Regions from separate parts of the Homo sapiens genome. Here all the other regions are linked to region 3. The links are contacts of gene promoters, found by promoter capture Hi-C in human tissues and cell types (Jung and others, 2019). All regions are on one chromosome and are shown on one strand. Each heading gives the region's core, a stretch centred on a gene start or on the middle of the fragment in contact. The rest is flanking DNA. Distances are from core to core; before and after follow the strand shown. Region 1 has its middle 33 kb from the start of CPXM1. Region 2 overlaps EBF4 (EBF family member 4). Region 3 holds the start of TMC2 (transmembrane channel like 2).

Region 1 (3,997 bases), core at 1,224-3,723, 230 kb before region 3:
CGTCACTGATCTGGGAGGTAGAAGAGAAGGGAAATGGGGTTCAGCCTGGGTAGGGGGTAGGTGGGAGGACAGGCAGAAGAGCGAGTCAGCTTTTAGAGACATCCAAGGCAATGATGGGTGTCCCGAGCCAGCAGAGCTGATGTGGACAGCACCTATGGCCCTCCCAAGCAGTGACTATGATTGAGTCAACTGCGTGCTTGCTGTGTGTGTCCACCTCTGCTGCACAGCTCTGTTGAGCATCACCTGATCTCCCTGAGTGGATTCCTGCCCTTTGTTTGTCAATGGCCCAGGACATTCCCTATAAGCCCTACTTGAAACAGAAGGGGAGTCCTTGCCACCCAAGAAGTAGGGCTGGTATAAAGACGGGCGTCGCTCCTGGTCTCGGATTTACTAGGTAGAGGGGTGCAGTGGAGGCTCTTAGAGTTCCACCAGATCCTTACCAGCCAGTGTGCTCATCCCCAACTGGGGTGAGTGTTGGCTGCTGACAGCTCACAGCTGCCCCCTTCTCCCAAGTATTGTCCTTGGCCAAATGGGAGCTGCTTTGCCCAGGAGGTTTCACTCTCCACTCTCCTCTGGCAGCCTCCAACCAGTGGCTGACAGGCTCAGGGATATTAGAGGCATCTCCTTGTCATGGCAGGGTCCAACTGAGGTGCCCTTCATGCTTAGGCTCCGCGTGGGACTGTGCTAGCCTCCTGCAGAGACTTGCCCAGCTCTTTCCCCTACCCTGTTCTGCTTTCTTCTCTCCTTTTTGTCCAGAGAGCCCTTTCATGTGCACACAAATCCCCATTTCAGGCTCTGCGTCCAGGGAACCCCCGCTAAAATAATGGGCTGATGGTATGGGCTGAACAAATTGTGGATCTGGCTGGACACAGTGGCTCACATCTGTAATCTCAGCACTTTGGGAGGCAGAGGTAGGAGGATTGCTTGAGGGCAGGAGTTCAAGACTATCCTGGGCAACATAGTGAGACCCCTGTCTCTACAAAAAATAGAAAAATTAGTCGGGTATGGTGGCACATGCCTGTAGTCCCAGCTACTCAGGAGGCTGAGGTAGGATTGCTTGAGCTCAGGAGGTCGAGGCGGCAGTGAGCTGAGACAGTGCCACTGTACTCCAACCTGGGCAACAGAACAAGACCCTGTCTCAAAAAAAAAAAAATTAAACTCTGGCTCTAACAGCAACGTAGCCCCATCCCACCGGGCTGTGTTAAGGGAAGAAGAGGTCTTGCCAGAGCTCTTTCTCCTCCCCTGGCAGCTCCTGCTTTATGCCCACACCCACACAGGCACACACTCCTCCCCGCACCCCCTCCCCACCATGTCTTCTCCTGCACAGCTGCTTCCCAGAGGAAGTGGGTTGAGGAATTCTGTCAACCTTCACACTTGATGATAGCCTTTTACACTTTCAGTTGAGACCAAAAGAGATGCTGCCCCGTCCTCACTCAACAAGGGACAGAGAGATGCCCAGAAGTCTCTCGGTACCTGCTCCTGGCCCCACCTGACTCTGTAGGGCTCTGTGTTGTGGAACCTGCAGGGGCACCATGGACAGACCTGCCAGGTTTGGGCCTGCTCAGCCACTCGACCACATTCCACCGGCAGCCACAGTTTGTCTTGGCAAGGTCAGCCTCCAGGCCCAGCTCCAGGAAGGCCCTGGGGAGCAGCCCAGACAAACCAGCTTTCACCACAGAAGCCAGCGCTGGCTGGGCTTGAGGCAGTGCCAGCCTGAGAGTGGCTGGAGCCTCCCCCACCCACCTAAAGGTGAACTCAGTTCTGGGTGAGCGGGTGGGTGCGTGGAGGGGGCAGGCTCCTACATGGGTGGAACCCCCAGAGAGGCAGCAGGGGCAGGAGCCAAGCCAGAGGGTTTTTCTGCCCTACACGAATCAGCCCTTCAGGAACTGGACTCATGGGATGACTGCCCGGAGCTGCGGCAGCCTAGCCCGAGCCTCCTCCTCACACCCCACCAGATGAGGGTGCATCAGGGCAGCGCTCGCTCCCAGGCTGGCAGGGGAGGGGCAGGAGAGGCTTTGGAGAATGAAGATGCTGGGATGCTGAGCCCCAGGGAACAGCAAATCTGCTACTGGACGGCCAGCTTTCCTTCCCCCATAAACACTTGGCGCCTTCTCTCTCAAGGAATAAAATACTCAAAAAGGAATGTATACAAATAAAACCGTCTTGTTGCTGTTCCTGCCCTGCTAGGCAGCCTCTCCTGCATCTTTAGAGCCATGAATTCTCTTCCGTTCTGTCTCCAGTGGGGGTCTCTGAGACCCTCCTACCCATTCTGCTTGGCAGTCTCTGCAGCTTCAAACCCAGGACCTCCCACCCTCCTGAGGCTGCCACTCTGTGACCCCCTGCCAAGGTGAGGCAAGGAGGGAAGCTTTGAGTATCTTCACCTTTGGAAGTGAGTGGTCAGGGGCTCCTGAACAGAGGACTCACGAGGACTGTTCTGGATTTCCAACAGAGGGGACCCAGAGCTAAGGAGCCCAGCTGGGTTTGAATCTTAATGGTTAGAATAGAATGGTAAAAGATGGGTTAGAGTCAAAGTAGAATGACTTAGTGAGAGATTAATTTGTGTTTGTTCTTGTGTTTTTCCCTCCACTGCTCCTAGAAGGTAGCCAAAGCCAGTGTAGCAGTGTGAGGTACCGAGGTGGTCTGCAGAAAGCCTAGCTCCTCCAGGAGAAGCGGGTAAGGGCGAGGGCCAGTGAGTGCCTTCTTAGAGAGTAGTGCAGAGAGAGAAAGAGAAAATGGGCTCTGTGTTAATAATTGGTATACCCTGTATAAAGAATAAGGCCAGGCATGGTGGCTCATGCCTGTAATCCCAGCACTTTCGGAGGCCAAGGAGAGCAGATCACTTGAGGTCAGGGGTTCCAGACCAGCCTGGCCAACATGGTGAAAGCTCATCTGTACTAAAAATACAAAAATTAGCCAGGCATGGTGGTGTGAGCCTGTAATCCCAGCTACTTAGGAGGCTGAGGCGAGAGAATCACTTGAACCAGGGAGGGGAGGTTGCAGTGAGCTGAGATCGTGCCATTGCACTCAAAAAAAAAAAAAAAAGAATATATGGCCATTTACAATTAAACATACAATTAGCTAAAGCAGTGGCTTAAAATTAGACATGTAATTAATATAATTCAGCACATTAACGAAATAATGGAGAAAGTAATTTGATTACTTAATACATGAAGAAAAATATTTCACAAATTTTGGCATCTATTTATAATTTTTAAACATTTTTAGAAAATTAGGAATAGAAGGATATCTATAAACCAAATACGATGCTTAATGATGGAATATTAAAAGTTTGCCCTCCAGAATCAGGAGCAAAACAAAGATGTCCACTCTCACTACTTCTATTCAACATTGTATTGGAGGTTGCAGCCAGTGCATTTAAGCAAGAAAAATAAGTAAAAATAAAAAAGTAAGGACTGCAAGTGAAGAAATGAAACTGTCCTTTTTTTGCAGATGACATAACTATGTAGCTAAGAAAATTCAAGATAATCTAAGGATAAGTGGCTAAGCAAGATTGCTGGATACAAGGTAATTATACAAAAATCCATTGTTTCTATATATTCACAACAAATAAAATTAAGAAAATGATACTATTTATAATATCACAAAATAATCAAATAGAAATAAATGAAATAGGTGCAAAACTTTCATACAGAAGTCTATAAAACATTATTAAGAGAAGTCTTAAAAGATCTAAATAAATGGAGGGATATACAATATTCATAGATTGAAACACACAATATTTTAAAGACATCAATTCTCCATTAATTAGTCTGTAAATTTAATGTAATCCCAATGAAAATCCAGCAGGTTTTTTTGTGTTTTTTTTTGGGAGATGGAGTCTTGCTCTGTTGCCCAGGCTATAGTGCAGTGGTGTGATCTTGGCTCACTGCAACCTCTGCCTCTAGGGTTCAAGAAATTCTCCTGCCTCAGCCTCCTGAGTAGCTGGGACTACAGGCGCATGCCACCATGCCTGGCTAATTTTTTGCATTTTAGTAGA
Region 2 (4,213 bases), core at 1,164-3,663, 200 kb before region 3:
GTTTTGTGGCTGTAGAGGAAAACAGGGAATGTTGCATTGACCAGTGGATTAGGAAGGGGGCTGATTCTTTTGCAGTTCCCACAGCCCCTTTCATCTAATTGCACTTATAATGTGCCTGATCTAGGGTCTAAATTTGCCCCCAATAGAGTAGACCAGAGCTTACCTTTGCCAGGTGGCTCGGACCTAAACTATTCCAATAGTGTCACTGAACAACACCCACCAGGCAGCAGGCACAATTAAATGCCAGGGAGTATCCATAGCCCCCAGCTTCTATCTATCCCTAGGAGCCAGAGAAGAGCTATGAGCCTCCCATGGGAGGGTATGTTTCCCTACCCCTGCCACAGGGTCATCCTGGCCAATCAAGCAAATATTTAAAGTCTTAGAGCTGTGATGTCAGATACAGTAACCATGTGTTATTTCTTAAATTTGATTTAAATTAAACACAATTAAATATTCAATTCCTCAGTCACGGTAGCTACAGTTCAAGTGCCCAATAAATATGTGTGGCTATTGGCTACCATATTGGTTGGTACAGAATATTTTCATCATTGCAGAAAGTACTATTGGATAGTGTGGTCTTCAAGCCTTACATTGTTTTCTATTTCTTCTTATTATTATGTAATTATAGATAATCTCTACTGACCTTTCTTCAAGTACACGAATTTTTTTCAAAATTATAAATTGTTGTTTACATAATTATATTTGTCTCCTCAACTGCTCTGTAAGCTCTCAGAGGGCAGGGATCATTGTTTAAGCCTCTCTTCTCCCAAGCATCCATCATAGTCCCAGCCCCACAACAGGTGCTGATTGATTCATGATAGAATTCAAGAGTCAAAAATTACTGTGACTGGATGAATGCTGGACTAAAGCCCCCAAGGCACTTTTAACTTGTGCCCAGGTAAGAAATAACAATTACAGGGACAGGACTTTGGGAATTGCTAAGTAAAGACCTCTGAAAATCCATTCTTCCATAAAGAAACAAGAACACTGGCAAACATGGTCAAAATCAACTTTCTCAGAACTCTAAAAATTAACAACATGTGTGCAACAACTCAAGGAACATTGAGGCAAGAAAAATGGCTGAGTTGTAATAAGAACAGAAAGCTTTGTGGTGTTTTAATTTGCCCTATTCCCATCCCCTACTCCCCAGCCCTGTTGAAGACCAGCTACCTTGCAACCACTATTGTAGTTGTGAAAACTAGCAAGCTAGCAACCATAGGAAGGGGTAGAGTGGGTTTGGAGCCTCTCAACAAGCTGTATTCCCAGTCAGTTTTCACTCTTTAACCTTTCTAGCAACTCCCTGACAGCTTTATTTGCAGAACTTGTTATTTGACCCGATTCAGAACTTACTTAGTGGGAAAGACCCTATCTTCAGGGTGTTTGTTGAAAACAGCCAGCGGCAATTGCTTAACATTGCAGCTACATGAGGCAGCAATACAAGTTGGGGGCAAATAAAAGTTTGGCCATAATATTTTAAAGGAAAAAGTGGGGAATAAGATGTTCACAGGGGCTCTGAAAAGCTCTGACATATTCCTGGAGATCTAGAAAGCTATGCATATGTGCAGGGAGAGGCACATGCCCAAAAAAGGCATGGAAAGCCCCTGGTCTCTCACCTCTGGTTTATCCCAAGGCCCTGAGCAAGCAGGAAGTGAAGGTCAAGGCAGAGTTGTAAATCGCTGGAGCACTGAAGGCATGTCTTAACACACATACAGAACCTTTTGGCAATGGGTTGAACACTTATTGGCATTCAAGGCATTTAAAGAAATGCCTGTCCAATCATGGCCTGATAACTAAGCCAAGAGCAGAAACTTCAGTGATTATACATGACAGGAAATATAGACTTTATATAATTAGTCCAAGAAAATCACTAAACAAACAAACAGCAATAGCAATAAGAACAAAATTGGGAGGGAGGATCTGATTGCCAGAGTGCAACATTATATGATTAAAATGTCCAGTTTTCAACAAACAATTATGAGACATGCAAGGTACAGGAAAGTAAGACCCATACATTGTAATAAAGCAGCCAACAGGAACTATCCCTGAGGAAGCCCAGAGGTTAGAATTTTTAGACAAATACTTTATTAATTAATTTATTTTTGGAACAGGGTCTTGCTCTGTTGCCCAGGCTGAAGTGCAGTGGTGTGATCATGGCTCACTGAAGCCTTGACCTCCCAGGTTCAAGTGATCCTCCCACCTTAGTTCCCAAGTAGCTGGGACTACAGGTATGAGCCACCATGCCCAGCTAATTTTTGTAGGTTTTTGTAGAGACAGGGTTTCACCATGTTGCCCAGGCTGGTCTCAAACTCCTAGGCTCAAGCAATCTGCCCTTCTCTGCCTACCAAAATGCTGGGATTATAGGAGTGAGCCACTGCAGCTGGCATAGATAAAGACTTTAAATGAGCAATTATAAATATGTTCATAGAACTAAAGGAAACTATGTCTAAAAAATTCAAGAAAAGTATGAGAATGAAGTCACACCAAAAAAATCAATAAAGGATTTCAAATTATATTTTTAAAAACCCATGAAATTCTGAAGTAGAAAAGAACAATAAGTAAAATTTAAAAATACCTGGAACAAGCTTCTCTAACCTGCGACCCACGGGGCACATGCAGCCCAGGTTGGCTTTGAATTAGCCTGCAAATTTGTAAACTTTCTTATTATGAGATGTTTTTGCTTTTTTTTTTTTTTTCTCATCAGCTATCGCTAGTATTAATGTATTTTATGTGTGGCTCAAGACAAGTCTTCTTCCAATATGGCCCACGGAAGCCAAAAGATTGGACACCCCTGACCTAGAGGAACTCAACAACATATCTCATTTGGTGGGACGAAAAAAAATCAGTATACTTGAATATAGGCCAATTGAGATTATCTAGCTCAGAAGCAGAAAGAAAAAAGAATGAAGAAAAATGAACAGAGCTTAAGAGACCTGTGGGAGCCATCAAGCATACCAGTATATGTATAATGGGAATCTGAGAAGGAGAGTAGAGATGGAACAGGACAGAAAAATATTCAAGAAAATGCCCCTAAATTTCCTAAATGTGCTCAGTAATGAAAAACATTATTGAGCACATCTTAAGAAGCTCAGTAAACTCCAAGTAGTATGAACACAAAGTGTATGATCTATACAAAGACACATCATACTCAAACTTTTGAAAGCCAAAGAAAAAGAAAGGATCTGAGAAGCAATGAGAGAGAGAGAGAAGTAACTCGTCATATATAAGGAATCCTTAATAAGATCACCACATAACTTCTGAAACCATGAAGGACAGAAGGCAGTGAGATGATATATTGTGTTAAAAGAAAACAACTATCGACCAAAAAATTGCATGTCCAGCAAAACTATCAACTTCTAAAATGATCAACTTCAAAAATGAAGGAGAAATTGAGACATTTTCAGATAAACAAAAACTGAGAGGATTCATCACTAACAGGTTTGTCCTACAAGAAATACTAAAGGGAGTCCTTCAGTCTGAAATGAAACAAGACAAGACAGTAATATGAATTAACATGAACAGATAAAGAGCACTGGTAAAAGTCACTACATAGGTAAACATAAAAGACAGCATAAATGTATTTTTGTTTGTAATGATTTTGTTTTCCTATCTAATTTAAAAGACAACTGCACATTTGTGGGGATAGGGGATATATGGGAACTCTTTATAATTCCGTCTCAAAAAAAAATAAGAAAAAGAAAAAATAAAAGAAAAAGAAAACACAAAGCACAATGGCAGACATAAATCCTGTTCTATCAGCAATTACATTAAATATAAATGGATGAAATGCTTCATTAAAAGGAAGAGATTGGCAGAATGGATTAAAAAAGAAAACTACAACACAATCCAACTATATGCTGTCTATGTGAGACATACTTTAAATTCAAATGTACAAAAGGCTTTGAAAATAAAGGGATGGAAAAAGAGATAACATGTGAACCCTAACTGAAAGATAGCTGGAGTGGCTATACTAATTTATGAATAGACACTAAGATAAAAATTATGAGAGACAAAGAAGGACATGTTATAATGATAAAAGTGTCTATCATCAGAAAGAAATAACAATTATAAGCATGTGTATCTAATAACAGTCCGGGTGTGGTGGCTCATGCCCATAACCCCCGCATGTTGGGAGGCTGAGGCAGGCAGATTGCTTGAATCCAGGAGCTCAAGACCAGCCCAGGCAACATGGTGAAACCCCGTCTCAACTAAAAAT
Region 3 (4,243 bases), core at 513-3,012:
TGGCTGAGGCAAGTTCCGGGATAGGGGCCAGGAAGGGCTGTTGAGATGCCATGGCTGCACCCCCTGCCAGCCTCTGCCCAGCTCTTCCTTGCCTCCTGCTCCTGGGTCTCTCCCCTTGTAACACAGCGGCCTCACTGAAGCTCAGGCTCCCGACAACCAGACAGCAGCGGGTCACAGGAGCGGAAAGGGCAGATGAAGTGGCTCCTGGGGCCAGCTCCCTACTGGCCAGAGTGGGGCCAGGACAGGGCCCTCCCACAGGAGGGAGTGGAAAGGGCCCTCCCTCCCAGAATGGGGGAGGAAGGAGATCTCTTCCAACCCCCCAGAACCCCATCACTCCCCAAGATTCTGGTTTCTTGCCTACTAGTGTGGGGCGCAGGACCCAGCCCTGCCTGGGACGTGAAGGGGGAGAAAACAGCATCGCATCCATAATATTTTGTGACATGAAGATGCCCAGCCTGTGAGTGTGGCTTCTGCCCCTCTCCCCTGAACCCTCAGTCTCAACCAAGGGTTTTCTCTCCCGCCTATGGCTTCCTTGGGCTCTCCCACTTCTCCTGGAGCAAGTTGGCTCCCTCACCGGCTCACGGGAGAGCTGTGGTCACATTCCCAGTGGGAAGGTGATGGAGCACCCATTATGCCTACTACTTTTTGGAGGTTAAGAGTGTTCCTCCTAGAGTCCGGGGGCCTGGATGTGAATCTGGCCACACCACCCGCCAGAAGCCTGCACCGAGCTTCCCTGCCCTCTGTCTGGTGAATGTTCACTGCTTCCCAAGGCTCAGCTCAGAGTGTCACTAACCCTGGGAGTCTCCCCTGACACCGAGGGCTGAGCAGCACCTTCTCTGAGTGGTACTCTGCCCCCTCCCATGTTAAACACCTTGCCTCCCAGGAAGGCTCCATGCAGGGTGTTGAATGAGAGGGAAGGAGATGAAGGAGAATGTTGGATGGGTGGCTGGACTGTTGGGCTAAGCAGAGGGCACCCAGGCACTGCAGGCTCCCCAGAGACCCCACCACCCCATCTCACCTGTGTGTGGAGAGCCGCTCTTCACCCGCCCTTTCACTCCGCCTCGTGCTGTAAGAGACAGGATTGCTGACAAATGGCTGGCCTCTGGTGAGTCCCCCTCCCTGCAGACCCCCGGTCACTGTGGGACCCCTCAGCTGATTTGTGGCTGCCTCAAACTGGGACCCAGCTCCAATGATTTTACTCAGCAAATTATAGAGTCCCCTGCCTGTCACATTTGTCTGATACTGTCAGTCATGAGGTCAGAACATCCCCCACCCCCTGCCCTGCACAGAGACAGAGACAGATAGAAATCTGCTGAGGGGCTTGCTCGGAACAGGCAACCCTAACCGAGACAATAGGTGGCTGAGACGCCCCAGCAGGCTCTGAGGAGCATGCATCGGCCGTGACAGTCTCCAGTGCTGGCCTGAACACAGGTGCTGTGCACAGGTTGTCTTGAATCCTTCCAGTAGCCCTGCAAGGAGGTGATGACTACCCCCATCTCATGCGTGAGGATCAGAGAGGTTGAATAACCAGCCGAGGTCGCTCAGCGCACAGGGGACAGGCCCTGGACTCAAACCCAGCTCCTCCCTATGCCTCTGAACACCATATGTGCTTCCCCCATCCCCTGCTGCTGCCCAGGAACCCTGTGGGCGGGCCCCGCAGGATCAGGACGTGGACTCACCTTCCTCTTTCAGGCCCTTTACCTGGTGGCTCATGGTCAGCAGCACTGCTGGGGTCCTGCACAGGCTCACGCAGCGTGCTCCTGTATGCACGCCTTCAGCCTGGGCTGCTTTCCTGCCCTCATGGTGGCTGGCCTCCCTTCCTAGACCTGACAGCAGGCGGGGCTTCTTGGTTTGAGATTGAATGTGGAGGTGGGTGAAGTTTGGGGGAGAGAGACGGGTGAAGGAAGGCGACGAGTTCCCGGCCCATCAATCCGGCCACACACTCCTCTTCTCAGGTTTCCCTGCAAAGAGGCAGCATGGCCTCATGTTTCAGGCATCAGTTATACATGAGGGGCCCTGGAGGGGCCAGGAGCTGCAGGCTTATCTCCTGGCAATGATGCCGCTGGCACTCTAGCCAGAGGAGGTGTGAGGAGCATCCCAGGCCCTCTCCCACTATCTTGAGTCCCTGATTGGGACAAAGCACCAGGGAAATTCTAGAATGTTTGTTTAAGTTATTACTTGGGCTTCTGTTTAAAATGCAGATTCTGGCATGTGGTGGTTCACACCTGTAATCTCAGCACTTAGGAAGGCAGAGGCAGGAGGATTGCTTGAGCCCAAGAGCTCAAGACCAGCCTGTGCAACGTAGTGAGACCCCATCTCCACAAAAAGAAAAATAATAATAATAAATTTTTAAAAATAAAATGCATACTCCCAGGAGTGGCACTGGGCGTTGGAATCAGTCAGTCTGTGCCAGGCCCTGGGAGCCTGCACTGTGGATCCTGCTGCAGGCGTCCTGAGCCCACACAGATGAATGTTCCCGCTCAGCCCCCGCCCCCTCCCTCAGCAGCTTTTCCTCCCTGGCTTCAGGGAGGCACAGATTTGGCTGCTTTGAAAACCATCACTAAAGTGTCAGAGGGACCCTCTGGAAGGCAGTCATAAGGTCTCAGAGTGTGGAGTTCTTAATCTGGAGTCCCTGGAACCCCCAGAGCTGTGGATGGAATTCTGTGGGTTTGTGAATAGTGATGGAGAAAATACTACACTTTCACTTTTCCTAGCCTTAACTGCGATTTAGCATTTCCCTCAATCATGAATGTAAGCAAAGATGTGATTTTTGTCTCAGCAAAAGTCACAGTTATTTTTTTTCCCAATTAAACCACTGGGGATGTCTCAAAATATCTTACATGTTATCACAACTTCAAAATTATGATAGTTAGAGACCTGCCATGAAATCTTGTTATTTAATTAGGAAGCATATATTGTCATTATATGAAAGATATTTAAAGTGATTTTGATGCCTATTTCAGGATCATTGGTCTCCTTTGTAATCCTAGTGTTTTATTTTATGGATTTAATGTCTATGTTCTGAAAAGCGGTCTGTGGCTGGGCGTGGTGGTTCACGCCTGTAATCCCAGAATTTTGGGAGGCCAAGGCAGACGGATCACCTAGGGTTGGGAGTTCCGGACCAGTCTGGCCAACATGGTGAAACCCCATCTCTACTAAAAATGCAAAAATTAGCCGGGCGTGGTGGGATGTGTCTGTAGTCCCAGCTACTCAGGAGGCTGAGGCAGAATTGCTTGACCCAGGAGGTGGAGGTTGCAGTGAGCTGAGATTGCACCACTGCACTCCCTGGGTGATAGAGTGAGACTCTGTCTCAAAAATAAAAAAAAATATAAAAAGGGGTCTACGGACCTTACCAGGATGCCAAAGGATTCTATGACACAACAGAATAAAAAGCCTTCCCCAGGGCAAGTCTCCTGTGGGTGTCAAGGACAGACCTAGCCTCTGATCATGCCCATGTACTTTCTCAGGGGTCAGGAGTAGGAGTGCCTGTCCTCATGCAAGCTTGGCGAGGGAAGGGGCAAAGGAGCTACCTCTAAAATGCACGTGCAACGGTTCATCTCAAGCTTTGAAGCTTTTCTCTTTGTCCCACACCTTGATCTCCGACCCAACTGGTTCCTGCAGGGCCGCCCCAGTCCCCGGGGCATGAGGGCAGTGGGAGGATCTCAGTTGCATTCTCTGGCATCCATACTGCAGGACTGCAGCCGCAAATCCCTCTCCCCACCAGGGCCATGCCAGTGCAGGACCCCGGTCCATGTGAGAAGCAGCACGGGCAGCTGTGCAGCCACAGGACAGCGTGGCCCAGAGGACTGGTGAGTAAGGTTTCTGCTGGGGGTGCCCCAAGCGCTCTCCCCTGATGAGTGAGGACCCCCAGCAGCCCTTTACCCTGCTCTTTTTTTTTTTTTTTTTTTTTTTTGAGACAGCGTCTGGCTCTGTCGCCCAGGCTGGAGTGCAGTGGCGCGATCTCGGCTCACTGCAAGCTCCGCCTCCTGCCTTTACCCTGCTCTTGTTGTTCTCTGTTGCCAGAGGAGAAAGGCTTTCTACAACACCTTCATCTCCGGAGAGAAATTCCCTCCAGATAGGACTATCAAATTCCCTTGTACCTGACTGTCCACACAGTCGATAACTCCACTTTTCTCCTCACAGATAAAAATGAGCACCCACTGGGGTCAGAGTCAGTTCTCGGCTCTGGGGATTCATCAGCAAATGAAACAGAGACCCTTGTCCTCAGGGGCTGATGTGTTTT

What was found. Contacts are between HindIII fragments. The study calls those that stand out against the background at their distance.
Region 1: a fragment that was not itself captured here is called in contact with the fragment with the promoter of TMC2 in region 3 in 1 of the 25 tissues and cell types used here (liver).
Region 2: a contact is called between a fragment that was not itself captured here and the fragment with the promoter of TMC2 in region 3, in 1 of the 25 tissues and cell types used here (H1 embryonic stem cells).

Annotation. Positions count from the first base shown.
Region 1 is chr20:2,766,108-2,770,104 of GRCh38, reverse strand. No RefSeq gene overlaps it. Among named protein-coding and RNA genes, the nearest start is that of CPXM1, 33 kb to the left of the region's middle. The HindIII fragment of the contact is 8,792 bases long and covers 1-3,997 here.
Region 2 is chr20:2,732,296-2,736,508 of GRCh38, reverse strand. All of the region lies in intron 6 of EBF4 (EBF family member 4), which reads right to left. Among named protein-coding and RNA genes, the nearest start is that of EBF4, 42 kb to the right of the region's middle. The HindIII fragment of the contact is 4,101 bases long and covers 363-4,213 here.
Region 3 is chr20:2,534,092-2,538,334 of GRCh38, reverse strand. It overlaps TMC2 (transmembrane channel like 2), which reads right to left and starts at 1,762. Exons shown (of 20, transcript NM_080751.3): 1 at 1,680-1,762; 2 at 1,019-1,066. The coding sequence starts at 1,713. LOC105372504 (a long non-coding RNA gene) reads left to right here. Exons shown (of 3, transcript XR_937204.3): 3 at 3,725-3,807. The HindIII fragment of the contact is 10,824 bases long and covers 1-4,243 here.